Linked DNA regions of Homo sapiens: all the other regions are linked to region 3. Evidence: promoter capture Hi-C in human tissues and cell types (Jung and others, 2019). All regions are on one chromosome and are shown on one strand. The core of a region is centred on a gene start or on the middle of the fragment in contact, and the rest is flanking DNA. Distances in the headings are between cores, read along the strand shown.

What was found. Contacts are between HindIII fragments. The study calls those that stand out against the background at their distance.
Region 1: a fragment that was not itself captured here is called in contact with the fragment with the promoter of LUZP1 in region 3 in 2 of the 25 tissues and cell types used here (H1 embryonic stem cells and mesenchymal stem cells).
Region 2: a fragment that was not itself captured here is called in contact with the fragment with the promoter of LUZP1 in region 3 in 10 of the 25 tissues and cell types used here (H1 embryonic stem cells, IMR-90 fibroblasts, adrenal gland and 7 more).

The regions. Positions count from the first base shown.
Region 1 is chr1:23,055,576-23,059,571 of GRCh38, forward strand. It overlaps KDM1A (lysine demethylase 1A), which reads left to right. Exons shown (of 21, transcript NM_001009999.3): 7 at 357-463; 8 at 1,909-1,990; 9 at 3,498-3,592. Among named protein-coding and RNA genes, the nearest start is that of MIR3115, 13 kb to the left of the region's middle. The HindIII fragment of the contact is 3,104 bases long and covers 6-3,109 here.
Region 2 is chr1:23,073,873-23,077,917 of GRCh38, forward strand. It overlaps KDM1A (lysine demethylase 1A), which reads left to right. Exons shown (of 21, transcript NM_001009999.3): 16 at 3,356-3,488. Among named protein-coding and RNA genes, the nearest start is that of MIR3115, 32 kb to the left of the region's middle. The HindIII fragment of the contact is 6,172 bases long and covers 1-4,045 here.
Region 3 is chr1:23,166,986-23,171,262 of GRCh38, forward strand. LUZP1 (leucine zipper protein 1) reads right to left here and starts at 1,871. Exons shown (of 4, transcript NM_001395462.2): 1 at 1,781-1,871. RefSeq lists enhancers at 577-1,108, 1,109-1,640, 2,716-2,765 and silencers at 880-1,019, 2,011-2,070. The HindIII fragment of the contact is 15,099 bases long and covers 1,663-4,277 here.

The sequences.
Region 1 (3,996 bases), core at 308-2,807, 110 kb before region 3:
AAGGGAAATAGCTTATATGCAGAATGTGTCCTAATGTAATTATGAAGTAAATGAAGCAGATTATTAACAAATTAACTAAGAATCACAGATACTGAAACACATGCCTGAGGTAATGAGAAAATAAATCTTAAGATAGTGGATTTGATTTATAAATGTTCGACACTGAATTTGAATTCATAAGTTTCAGATATTTGTTAATTTATTTTCAGGTAGTTTCCATATTTTGAAAATAACTCTCTGTATTTTTTACTTTGTAAGCTATTATGTTAAGAACCTAGAGGTTTTCATGAAATAAGACTGTAAGTACAAACTTTTATACCTAAAACAAAATCTTTTTTTTCATTTTTTGCTTTTAGCTAAAAAGACAGGAAAGGTAATTATTATAGGCTCTGGGGTCTCAGGCTTGGCAGCAGCTCGACAGTTACAAAGTTTTGGAATGGATGTCACACTTTTGGAAGCCAGGGTAAGAATTTCATTTTGAGTTTAGAGGCTTGACCTATTGGAAATATGGTAAGCAAATTATCTGTTGCAAATTAAAGAATTATACAACTTGAACTAAGCTAAATTGATTTGTATAATACTCAGAGTATTTTGGATAGTGTTATTTATATTTTTAAAAAGCTTTTTTTTTTAATGAATGCTTTGAAAAGTACTCTGTGAAGAGGGTTTTAGAGTATTTCTTTTCCTGACTGATATTTTCAGATCATTATTTCTTGTAGTTAGCTCTCAAATTTGGGGCCTTCATGGACATATCCTTTGTTAGGAGGCAGTTATTTTTGATGGTGGAACAGAGTGAATTCCCTGTTTTTGATAAAGAAAAAAAGCTGCTTCTCAGGCAGGAACCATCTTTTAGAAGCCAAGATACTGGTTTTTTTCCTGTTAGTCCTAGAGAGAGAAATGGAAACAGGAGGAGCAATAAGGGATAATGGCACACAGTAGGAAAAAGAGCATCATATTAGGATGCTACTATTCAAGCTATTTTCATGAATAATTTTTGAAATCTAATGATCTTCTAATGGCTTTGAACTGCTAATTTTTTAAAAGAGTATGGGGAAATTGAAATTAAATATTTTCCTGATATACTATTATTAAAAATTTTATATATTTAGAAAACATCTTTGTGCACTTTGTACATTTTGTATTAAAAAATACAATAAGGAATAATAGGACCATTTTGATTCCTACCCATGAGGAGTTTGTAATCTAGTATGTAGGTTTTTGTTTTGTTTGCATTTTTGTTTGTTTGTTTGGAGTTCCAGAGTACTCTTACATTATTTATAATCATTAAATTATCGCTACAACTCAGCCATACTTGAAAATCCCTCGTCAGCAGTGATAAACCTGGGCCTATTTAGGGATAAAAGGTATTGTGAACAGGCTATGTTCAGTATGGACTCTCTGCCCCTGGGCATGGGGGTGCACTGGAGAACCATTTGTCAGAAAAATTATCCATCAGATTTTTCCCCGCTAACTTTGGGGATCAGGGTGTAAGAGTCAGATTACAGTGGTAGAAAGTTGGTGTTTAAATAGTGTTGGGATTTGTGAACAAATATTTTCTATATGGGTGGCCCTGTACATTAAAAGGTATTATAGACAACTGGATAGAGTGGTACCTGTGACTAAATTTATCTTCCAGCTGTCAAGACTGTTTTATATCACATCATTTAATTCTGTGTCGTTTAGTTATATGACATTTAATTATATGTCATTTGTTGCCTGCTTCTCCTTCAAATAGTCTTCAAGTTAAACTTCATTTGTTCTTTGTGCCCATAGTACTGTTGATTGCATTCCATGTAAACTCTACATCTTTATTTTTAAATTATAGAAGACAGAGCCGTGGTATGGTACTATGCCAGGTTTGTGGTTAAAACAGAATTGATGATTTTGGCTACTTAATTTCTGAAACAGGATCGTGTGGGTGGACGAGTTGCCACATTTCGCAAAGGAAACTATGTAGCTGATCTTGGAGCCATGGTGGTAACAGGTCTTGGTAAGTAGCTATTGGTTTGTGCTATATAGTACATGGTCTAAGACTCATAAAAGAAATTTAAAGCCAGAGATGCTATTTTAAAATGTATTGGTTTAGAATAGTCATCTTCCGTTTAGTGAGAGGTATAGCAGTATGTGGAAAATGTAAATTGTACATATCTTTTGACCTAGAGTACCTTTTTCTAGTTCTAGGAAATTATCATATGAAGATAAGTAGATAATGTTGTGTTTGAAGCTTTTTTTTTTTTTTTTTTTGTGAGACAGAGTCTCGCTCTGTCACCCAGGCTGGAGTGCAGTGGCGTGACCTCCACTCACTGCAGTCTCCTCCCTCAGCCTCCCGAGTAGCTAAGACTACAGGCACACACCACCATACCCAGCTAATTTTTTGTATTTTAGTAGAGGCGAGGTTTCACTATGTTGGCCAGGATGGTCTCGATCTCCTGATCTCATGATTAACGTGGCATTGTTTTTGTTTGTTTCGAGACATGGTCTCGCTCTTTTGCCCAGGCTGGATTGCAGTGGCATGATCTCAGCTCACTGCAACCTTTGCCTTCCATGCTCAAAGGATCCTCTCACCTCAGCCTCCCTAATAGCTTGGAGTACAGGCATGGGCCACCATGCTTGGTTAATTTTTAATTCTTTGTAGAGATGAGGTCTCACTATATTGCCAGGCTGATCTGAATTCCTGGGCTCAAGCAGTGCTCCCAAAGTGCTGGAATTACAGCACTGGTCTCAAACTCCTGACCTCAGGTGATCCACCCACCTCGGCCTCCCAAAGTGCTAGGATTACCAGCATGAGCCACCATGTATGGCTTAAACTAGCTTTTGAACAAGCTTATAGGACAAGTACAAAGAACCCCACTAATTTATGCTTGTAATTACAAATACGTTTCATGGCTTTAGAAATCTAAAGAGATAGGTTAGTAGCTTTATGAGCCACAACGCCCGGCCTTGTTTGTTTTTAATAGAAACAGGGTCTTGCTCTGTTGCCCAGGCTGATGTTGAACTCCTGGCCTCAAGAGATTCTTCTGCCTTAGCCTTCCAGAAGGTTGAGGTTGTGGGCATTAGCCAGCTTGCCCATCCCTGGTATTGTTTTTCATAGCAGAACATTAGAAACCACAGATTAGAATATTATACGATGAGAAATATACAGCCACTAAAAATCATGTAGCTCCGTATTAGCGTAAAACGATGTCCACAATATATTGCTAAGTTGAAAAGATATTATAAAACAATACGTATTATGATACTTTTTTGTGTGGGTCTGTAATTTTATACACTTAAAATCTAGAAGAATCTGTAATGTTAATTAGTGGGATTATAGGTAATTTTTTTGCCTTCATGTTTGTCTTACATATTTTTACTTAGAGTGCTTTTTTTTTTGAGAAATAATTACATACTGTAAGCTTTTGAGCTTTTTATATTTTGAGTAAAAATATTTTTTACTTTAAGGTTTTTGTTCTCTCTTCATAGGTCTATTGAATTTAATTGCTTGAGTTTTTTTCTAGGAGGGAATCCTATGGCTGTGGTCAGCAAACAAGTAAATATGGAACTGGCCAAGATCAAGCAAAAATGCCCACTTTATGAAGCCAACGGACAAGCTGTAAGTCGAGGACAAACAGAACTTTCAACATTTCTTTGGTTCACTTGAAAACAATTTTAGGAGAATGGTATGGATGAGCATATACATATATACACATATAGAGGTGTATATATATATAAACTGAGGGTAGAGATGATGTGATGTTATTCTGGTTGTTTCTTAACTCTTGAGCTATGTAGGAAAGGATTATTGTATATATACACATTTACCTGTCTGTTTAACATTTATCTTTAGATATTTAATGAAGGCTAGCTAGACAGTTAATCTTTTTATTTGGCTGTGGCCACTTACTCCAAGGGACTTATGGAATTGAAACCTGATTCTTCGGTTTTTTTTGTATTGTGCCTTCCATCACGTGCTTTAGCTCCATGTGTTCTTTATGACTTCAGTTCTGTGTTCATAGG
Region 2 (4,045 bases), core at 352-2,851, 93 kb before region 3:
CCATTGTGTGGATATACCACTGGTGCCTTAATGGGCATTTGGGTTGTTTCCCTTTTTTGACTGCTAATGAACGAAGCTGCTTAAGAATGTTCATGTCTTTCTCTTGAGTAAATATTTATGAATGGAATTGCTGGGTACTATGGAAAGTGGATTTTTAACTTTATAAATCAACTTCCAAACTATTTTCCAAATTGCCTTCCCATCAGCAATGTATGAAAATTCCATTTTCTCCAAATCCTCACCAATCTTGGTAATGCCAGTTTTTAAAATGTCAGCCATTCTAATAGGTATAGTAGTATTTGCATTTCCCTGATGACTAGTGATGTAGAGCAACTCTTCCTGAGCTTATGAGCCATTCATATGTCATCTTTGAGTAAATGTCTGCTCAGATCTTTTGCCTATTAAAAAAGTCTGATTGTCTGCTTGTTGATGAGTTTGAAGTTTATTATGTTCTTTAAATTCTAGGCAGAAGTCCTTTGTCAGATTTATGTTTTACAAATATTTATTTCCTTGTCATCTGTGGCTTGTCTTTAATTTTCTAAATCTGTCTCAAAGAGTAAAAGTTTTTACTTTAATTTTTTTCTTTTGAGACAAGGTCTTGCTTTGTTGCCCAGGCTGGAGTGGTGTGATCATGGCTCCCTTGCAGCCTTTACCTCCTGGGCTCAAGTGATCTTCCTGCCTTGGACTCCCATTCCTATTTATAAAATTTTTCTTTTAAACCATGTTCTTTTTCTATCTTGAAAAGAATCTTTGTCTTACCTGTGGTCACAAAGATGTTATCCTGTGTTCTCCTGCAGAAATTGTATGGGTTTAGCTCTTATGTTTAGGTCTATACTCCATTTTGTGTTAATTTTTATGTTTAAGGAAAGGTAAGTGAAGGGTTCATGTTTTTCCATATAGTTATGTAATTATTATTCCAGCACTATCCTTTTCTTCATTTGTCTTGGCACCTTTGTTGAAAATTAATTGGCATGTAAGCATGAGTATTTAGGGTTGTCTTTTCTGTTAATTTATCTGTCTATCCATATGCCACTATCATACTGTCTTGTAAGTTCTCCAACTTTGTTCATTTTTGAAATTGTTTTGGCTATTTTAAGGTACGTATTTCCATAACAGTTTTAGAATCAACTTGTCAATTTCTACAAAAATCACCTTCTGGGATTTTGATTAGGAGTGCATTAAATTTCTAGGTCAATTTAGGGTGAATTGCCATCTTAACAATATTGAATATTCTTATCCTTAAATACAGTATACTTCTCCAAAAATAGTTTTCTTTCGTTTATGTCAGTGATGTTTTATAGTTCTCAGTGAGCAGGGCTATACCATCTTTTCTTAAATTTCAGTGTGATTTACTCTTCAAGTGAGAAATCACAAGGCTTCTTGGACCAATCTCTAAATCTGAGACTTTGGCCAGAATTAAGACTGTATAGGCTGGGTACGGTGGCTCACGCCTTTTTAAACCCAGCACTTTGGGAGGCCAGAGCAGGAGGATCAATTGAGTCAGGAGTTCAAGACCAGCCTGGCCCTGTCTCTACTAAAAATACAAAAATTAGCCGGGCATGGTGGCGGGCACCTGTAATCCCAGCTACTTGGGAGGCTGAGGCACGAGAATTGCCTGAACCCAGGAGGCAGAGGCTGCAGTGAGCGGAGATCGCGCCATTGCACTCCAGCCTGGGCAACAGAGCAAGACTCCATCTCAAAAAAAAAAAAAATGTATAGAAGTAAATTATTAAATTTTTATTTATATATTTTAGTTTACATTATACATTTTCCTAATAAAAATTATTTTGACAGGCTGGGCATGGTGGCTCATGCCTGTAATCCCAGCACTTTGGGAGGCCAAGGCAGGCGGATCACCTCAGGTCAGGAGTTCGAGACCAGCCTGGCCAACATGGTGAAACCCCATCTCTACTAAAAATACAAAATTAGCCTGGCGTGGTGGCGCATGCCTGTAGTCTCAGCTGCTTGGGAGACTGAGGCAAGAGAATCGCTTGAACCCAGGAGGCGGAGGTTGCAGTGAGCCGAGATCACGCCACTGCACTGCAGCCTGGGCAACAAGAGCAAAACTCCATCTCAAAAAAAAAATTATTTTGACTTCTTAATCTTTAGATTATAATCTGATAGTTTTAGTATTTGAAGAGTTGGACTTGTTAGAGATAAAGTCTTGCAGAACTACCAGTTCCTTTGTGGTTTTTCATGTAAATACTAACTTAGGCCCTTCTAGTCATTGATTTATCATTTGATGTTTCAATATGTGTCTATTTGTAATAGTATTAAATTTTAAATGAGTGATTTCAGCTGAAGTAGAGTGTTGCTGCCAGCCCAGTATTTTGATCTAATTTCCCCAAGAATTTCATGAAATTAGAAATCCTTACCAGCTTACAAAAAAAATGTTACATAGAAAAATTTTCAGTAAATTCAAAGAAGTAAGATCATTTTGGGGATCTTTAAATTCCTGGTCAATTCCTGACTTTTTTTTTACTGTATGGACTGTCTTGGGCCACTCTTTATGGTCCTAGATTACCTTCATCTAGTTTGACTGACTTAGTTTTGGAAATCTTCCTCAACTTCAAACCTGTAAATTTAAAGAATAAAAACTGATTTTGCTCTCAGGTAAAAGAAAATGTAATCAGGACTGTGACCCTGATATCCTTCAAGTCTGTAATGTATTCAAAAGCCAGATAAATAAACTTGAATGATGTTTAATCATCTGAATTTCCTGAATCATCATTCCCCCTACCACCTCCCTACCCTAACCACCATAGAAGATCCGGACTTAGTGGTATTGGACTGGAATGATAAAAACTATCCAGGGAAGGCCGAGCGTGGTGGCTCATGCCTGTAATACCAGCACTTTAGGAGGCTGAGGTGGGTGGGTCAGGAGTTTGAGACCAGCCTAGCCAACGTGGTGAAACCCCGTCTCTACTAAAAATACAAAAACTAGCGGGGTGTGGTGGTACATGCCTGTAATCCCAGCAGTTACTTGGGAGGCTGAGGCAAGAGAATCACTTGAACCCAGGAGTCCGAGGTTGCAATGAGCCGAGAGCACGCCACTGCACTCCAGCCTGGATGACAAAGCAAGACTCTGTATCAAAAAAAAAAAAAAATCCAGGGACAAAAGAAACTTCCCTAATCTCACTACCCGAAGATTTAGGGACATTTTTTGGTGTTTTCTCTTTTTCCTTCAGTTTCCTTTGGTAACTGTAGCTAAATACTGAGTGATTTGTTCTTTAGTTTGCCTTAAAATATTGACTGTTTCCACAAGCTTGTGTTTTCATTGTTGTTGTACAGAACTAGGTGCAAATGACACAGATTAATAAAAGGTTGGAAATATGTTCTTTTCTCTCCTCTTTAGGATGATGACTTTGAGTTCACTGGCAGCCACCTGACAGTAAGGAATGGCTACTCGTGTGTGCCTGTGGCTTTAGCAGAAGGCCTAGACATTAAACTGAATACAGCAGTGCGACAGGTTCGCTACACGGCTTCAGGTATGTCACTGCTTTACAAAAGGTAAGAGAGAACTCTCCTGAAACAGGACTGATCTTTTGTTAGGTGCGACCTATCAGGTACATTTCCTGATAGAGTGTTTATGACACCATAGGTAAAAATTGGCATTTATAGACAGTTGAGCCTATAGAGTCTTTGGTGGTTCTAACCCTATCATTTTATAAACTGGGAAATCGAAGCAAGTTTTAGAGTTTCCAATTTGTGCATGAGCTAGTTGGATATTACTGGTCGAGCATCCCTAATCTGAAAATCTGAAATCTCTAATGCCCCAGTGAGCATTTCCTTTGAGCACCATGTCAGTGCTCAAAAAGTTTTCCATTTTGGTGACCCAGTGAGTTTGGATCTAGTTTTGTTAAGTATATTCATAAATACCAGGATTTTGGCCCCTGGGCTCCACTAGGACCCACCCCTTATATTTCACCATCCGCATTTTGGTCTTTGGATTCATTTTGGCTTTTTCTATGCATTTGGGCTAATTCGCTTACGTTTGGTTCCTAGTTCTGGAGCAGTCCTGCTAATAAGTTGACTTCTTCAGAGA
Region 3 (4,277 bases), core at 621-3,120:
TAGAAACCTGGAAAATTCTTCTAGGAGTAAATTCTTCTAGGAGTAAATTGAGCAAAACCTTAATCTGCCCCCAGGGGAATTCTGAGCAAAACAATTATTTCTGACAAAAGAAGAATTTTCTATGGGGGTAATTCAATTTAACCACATGAATACTACCAAAGTTGCAAACAAGGTGACAGAAGGCAATCTGGAACACACCTTCCAGATTCCCCAAAAAGAAATGTCCTCCTAAAATCCAAACCCCTCCCTCCCTAATTTGAGGTAGTCAAATCTTATTAGGTGATCTGAATTCTCCCGGCTCTGACACCAGTCCAGCTCCTTAGGCCAGAACTGCAGCCGTCTGTAAAAGAAATACCCTGAGCAAACCCCACCCCTCAAAACATCCCCAAAAGGCAGGGAGGTCCAGAGAGTATTTTCTCCTCCAACGACAGATAAGGCACCAAGGGCTCAGCAGCGCAATCCTTCTCCCAAGGTCATTCAAGTCAGTGAAGGTGCGACGGTGGAGCTGCAGGCAGTCTGGCCTTCTGGAAATCACACTACAGGGGTTTTGGGGGTGCCTACTCTCTTCCCCTCTCCCACCCGCAAGGGTGAGCACTGGCCTCGGCATTCCCGAAACAAGCCACAACAAGCTCTGCAGTGTTAGGAAAGGGGTTGACGCGATGAAGAAACAGATGCTCCAAAGCAAGATGGTCTTTCTCGGCTCACAGAGGCTCCTCCAAGGTTATGCACAGAAACCGCAGCCACCTCCAAGAGCTCTAAACCGGGCTCCGAAGCCCCAGCGCGGCCGCTGCGGGTCGCCAGGTTCCCTGCAGGCAGGCTCCGCAGCCAGAGGCCACCAGCCCCAGAAACCGCACTTCATTCCTGCGCTCCGGGAAGCCATGGCTCCTTCCCTGCCCGGGCGGCTGGGCGGGGGCCGGGGGTGCGCCGGGAGGCGGGCCCCGCGCTGCGGAAAGTTCACCGCGGCGGGCGGGGGGAGGCCCCGGCCCCGCTCGCCGGCGTCCCCCTGCAGATTCCACCATTAATTAGTCCTAAGGACTGTCTACTGGCAACTTAAACAAAGCGAATGCCTCGAATTCCTTCCCGGCCCAGCGGTCTGGCTGCGAGACCAGCAGAGCGCCCGGGACGCGGGCCGGCGCGGCCGACAGCTGCGGCGGCCGCGGGACCCCTCCCCGCCCGGCCCGCGGCCCGCGCCCCGCGCCCGCAGCTGGCCCCGCACGCCGGCCCGACGCGCTCCCAAACCGCCCTCCTCCTCCTGCTGCTGCAGCTCCCGGGCCCTTCCTGTCTGATCACTTCCTTCCTCCGGTGCCCGCCGGGCCCCGCGCAGCCCCCTCCACGGCCGCCTCGTCGCCCCCCGCCCCTGTCGGCCCGCGCCCCCTCCCCCAACCCCAAACTCTACCCCCGAAACTCTTCGCCGCCCCCTCGAAAATGTCTCCTCCGCGTCTCTGCCCCAAACATTTCTCCTCAGAGTCTCGCTCCCACCAAGAAGTCTCCTCAGAACCTTCCCTCCCCCTCCCGAGGAAAAATCTCCTCAGAGTCTCTTCCTCCAACTCCACAAACATGTGCTGGGTCTCGCCCCAAAAGGTCTCCTCCTGAGCCCTTCCTCCAAAATCCATTCCAACTCTCCCCCAACTCCACACCCCATCTCTCCTCGGCTGCGCCCGCGGTTTCTTCTGCCCCGTGGCCGCGGGTGCCCCGACCTCACCCGGGACCGGCCTCCCAACCCCGCCGCCCTCCCCTCCCCGCGCCGCGCTCCCGCCGCCGCCGCCTCACGGACCCTCACCTCTGCGGCCCCGAACCGCGCTCCCGCCAGCGAAGGGTTCCGCCGCTCAGCTGCCAGCGACCGGCGCCTCCTCTGGCTCCGCGGGACTGACAATGAGGGGCGGGGCCAAATTGTGACGTCAGCGTTCTGGAAGGCGGGGTCTTTGTGATGGGCGGGGTTGTCTGTAGGCCCCGCCCCCTCCGTCCTTTTTTTCCCTTCCCAGGACTTAGACTCCACCAAGTTTTTATTGCCTCCGTAGCTGGGTCCTGTGCTAGGCGCCCTGGGAAATCGAAATGGAAGACAAGACTTCTCGATTTCAGGAGGGACACTTTCGGCCCGCGTGGTGGCTCAAGTCTGTAATCCCAGAACTTTGGGAGGCTGAGGCGGACGGATCGCTTAAACTCAGAAGTTCGAGACCAGCCTGGGCAACATGGCGAAACCCCATCTCTATAAAAAATACAAAAATTAGCCGGGAGTGGTGGCGCCCGCCGGTAAGCTAAAGTAGGAGGATCGCTTGAGCCGAGGGAGGTCGAGGCTGCAGTGAGCCGTGATCGTGCCACTGCACTCCGGCGTGGGTGACAGAGTGAGACCCTGTCTCAAAAGAAAAAGAAAAAAGCGGGACACTCTCAGTAGGGTTGTGAGGATTAAATGAGATAATCAATGGAAAGGTGCTTAGCCTAGAACCTGATATGGAATAATCACTCAACAAATCCTATTTCTATTACTCTGCAAATGCAGAGAAGGAACTCAGCTCAGACTCGGGAGGCATGGGTTCCCGTCCCCCACTGTGCTATTAATTCTTTGTGTGATGCTAGACAAGTACTTTCCCATCTATGTTCCCGATTTTCATCTTCTTTAAAATGGGAAGGGGGAATAACCAGATGATCTCAAAATCCCCTCCCATACTTCTATGACATACTTCCTTTAAGTCTACTATCTAAAAGGCACCTAGTGCCCTGAGAAGCCAGGAGGAAGGCTTCAAAGACAGCCCAAGACCCACACCCAGCATAGTACAGGACACAGCCAGAGACTGCTCTCGCTGCGGATGCCCTCCCACACGCTGGCACGCAGCAGCATTCACAAGCCAGGACACAGATGGGCTGAGGGCTGCTTCCTCTCTGACTACAGCAGCATGGTTGGTCTCTTGAGACATCTCTTGTGTAAGCTCTTTATTGCCTATGGAATAAAGGCCAAAGCCCTGGCCTGGTATGATCACTTCCTACCTTTACACACACACACACACACACACACACACAAAGTTTATCCAAACTTCTCTTAGCACACCCACTGCTTTCCCACATTTGACCCTTTGCTGAAGCTCTTCCCCTGCTGTCTCACCTCCCAGCTTCTCCCAGCCAGAAAGCAATCCTCCCTGTTCTGAATAACCAATAACATTGTGTTTAACCCTCACGTGGGCATGAACACTACAACTTATAAAGAACTGACCTCCCATTTGTTTCTTAGCACTTCCTGGAGGTCAGAACCCACACATGTTTGTGGAGCTCAAGCTCTGATGCCAGAAAACCCTGGGATCATATGTTCTGGGGTCATAATAGCCATCTCTGAGCCTGTCTTCTCATCTATAAAATGGGGATAATAATATAGTCTTGTGGTGTTTGTTTTAAAATTACCTAAGATACTGTATGGAAAACATCAGGCACAGTGTTCCACAAACAATATGAACAATATGATTGTCATTCTTATTTTCTTTTTCTTTCTTTTTTTTTTTTTTTTTTTTTGAGACGAATTTTCTCTCTTGTCGCCCAGGCTGGAGTGCAGTGGCACGATCTCAGTTCACTGCAACCTCTGCCTTCCAGGTTCAAGAGATTCTCCTGCCTCAGCCTCCCAAGTAGCTGGGATTACCGGCACTTGCCACCACACCTGGCTAATTTTTGTATTTTTAGTAGAGACGGTGTTTCACCATGTTGGCCACGCTGGTCTCGAACTCCTGACCTCAGGTGATCCACTCACCTTGGCCTCCGTAAGTGCTAGGATTACAGACGTGAGCCACCACATCAGGCCCCTGTCATTCTTATTTTCAGTAGTATTATATTGACCAGGCGCGGTTGCTCATGCCTGCAATCCCACCACTTTGGGAGGATCACTTGAGTCCAGGGGGATGGATCACTTGAGTCCAGGAGTTTGAGACCAGCCTGGGCAACATGGCAAAACCCCGTCTTTACAAAAAATACTAAAAATTAGCCAGGCCTGGTGGTGCCCGTGCAGTCTCAGCTACTCAGGAGGCTGTGGTGGGAGGATCCCTTGAACCTGGGAGGTGGAGGCTGCAATAAGCCATGATAATGCCACCGCACTACAGCCTGGTGACAGATCGAGACCCTGTCTCAAAAAAAAAAAATATATATATATATATATAATTACTGTATGATTTATATATGTATTTTTATATATAACTACTATAATCAGTATTATTTCTAGTTATTAACACCACACAGCACCTCATAACAATCCACCTAATCATTTCATATGGAAGACTTTAGGGTCTTGAGAAAGGAAGAGG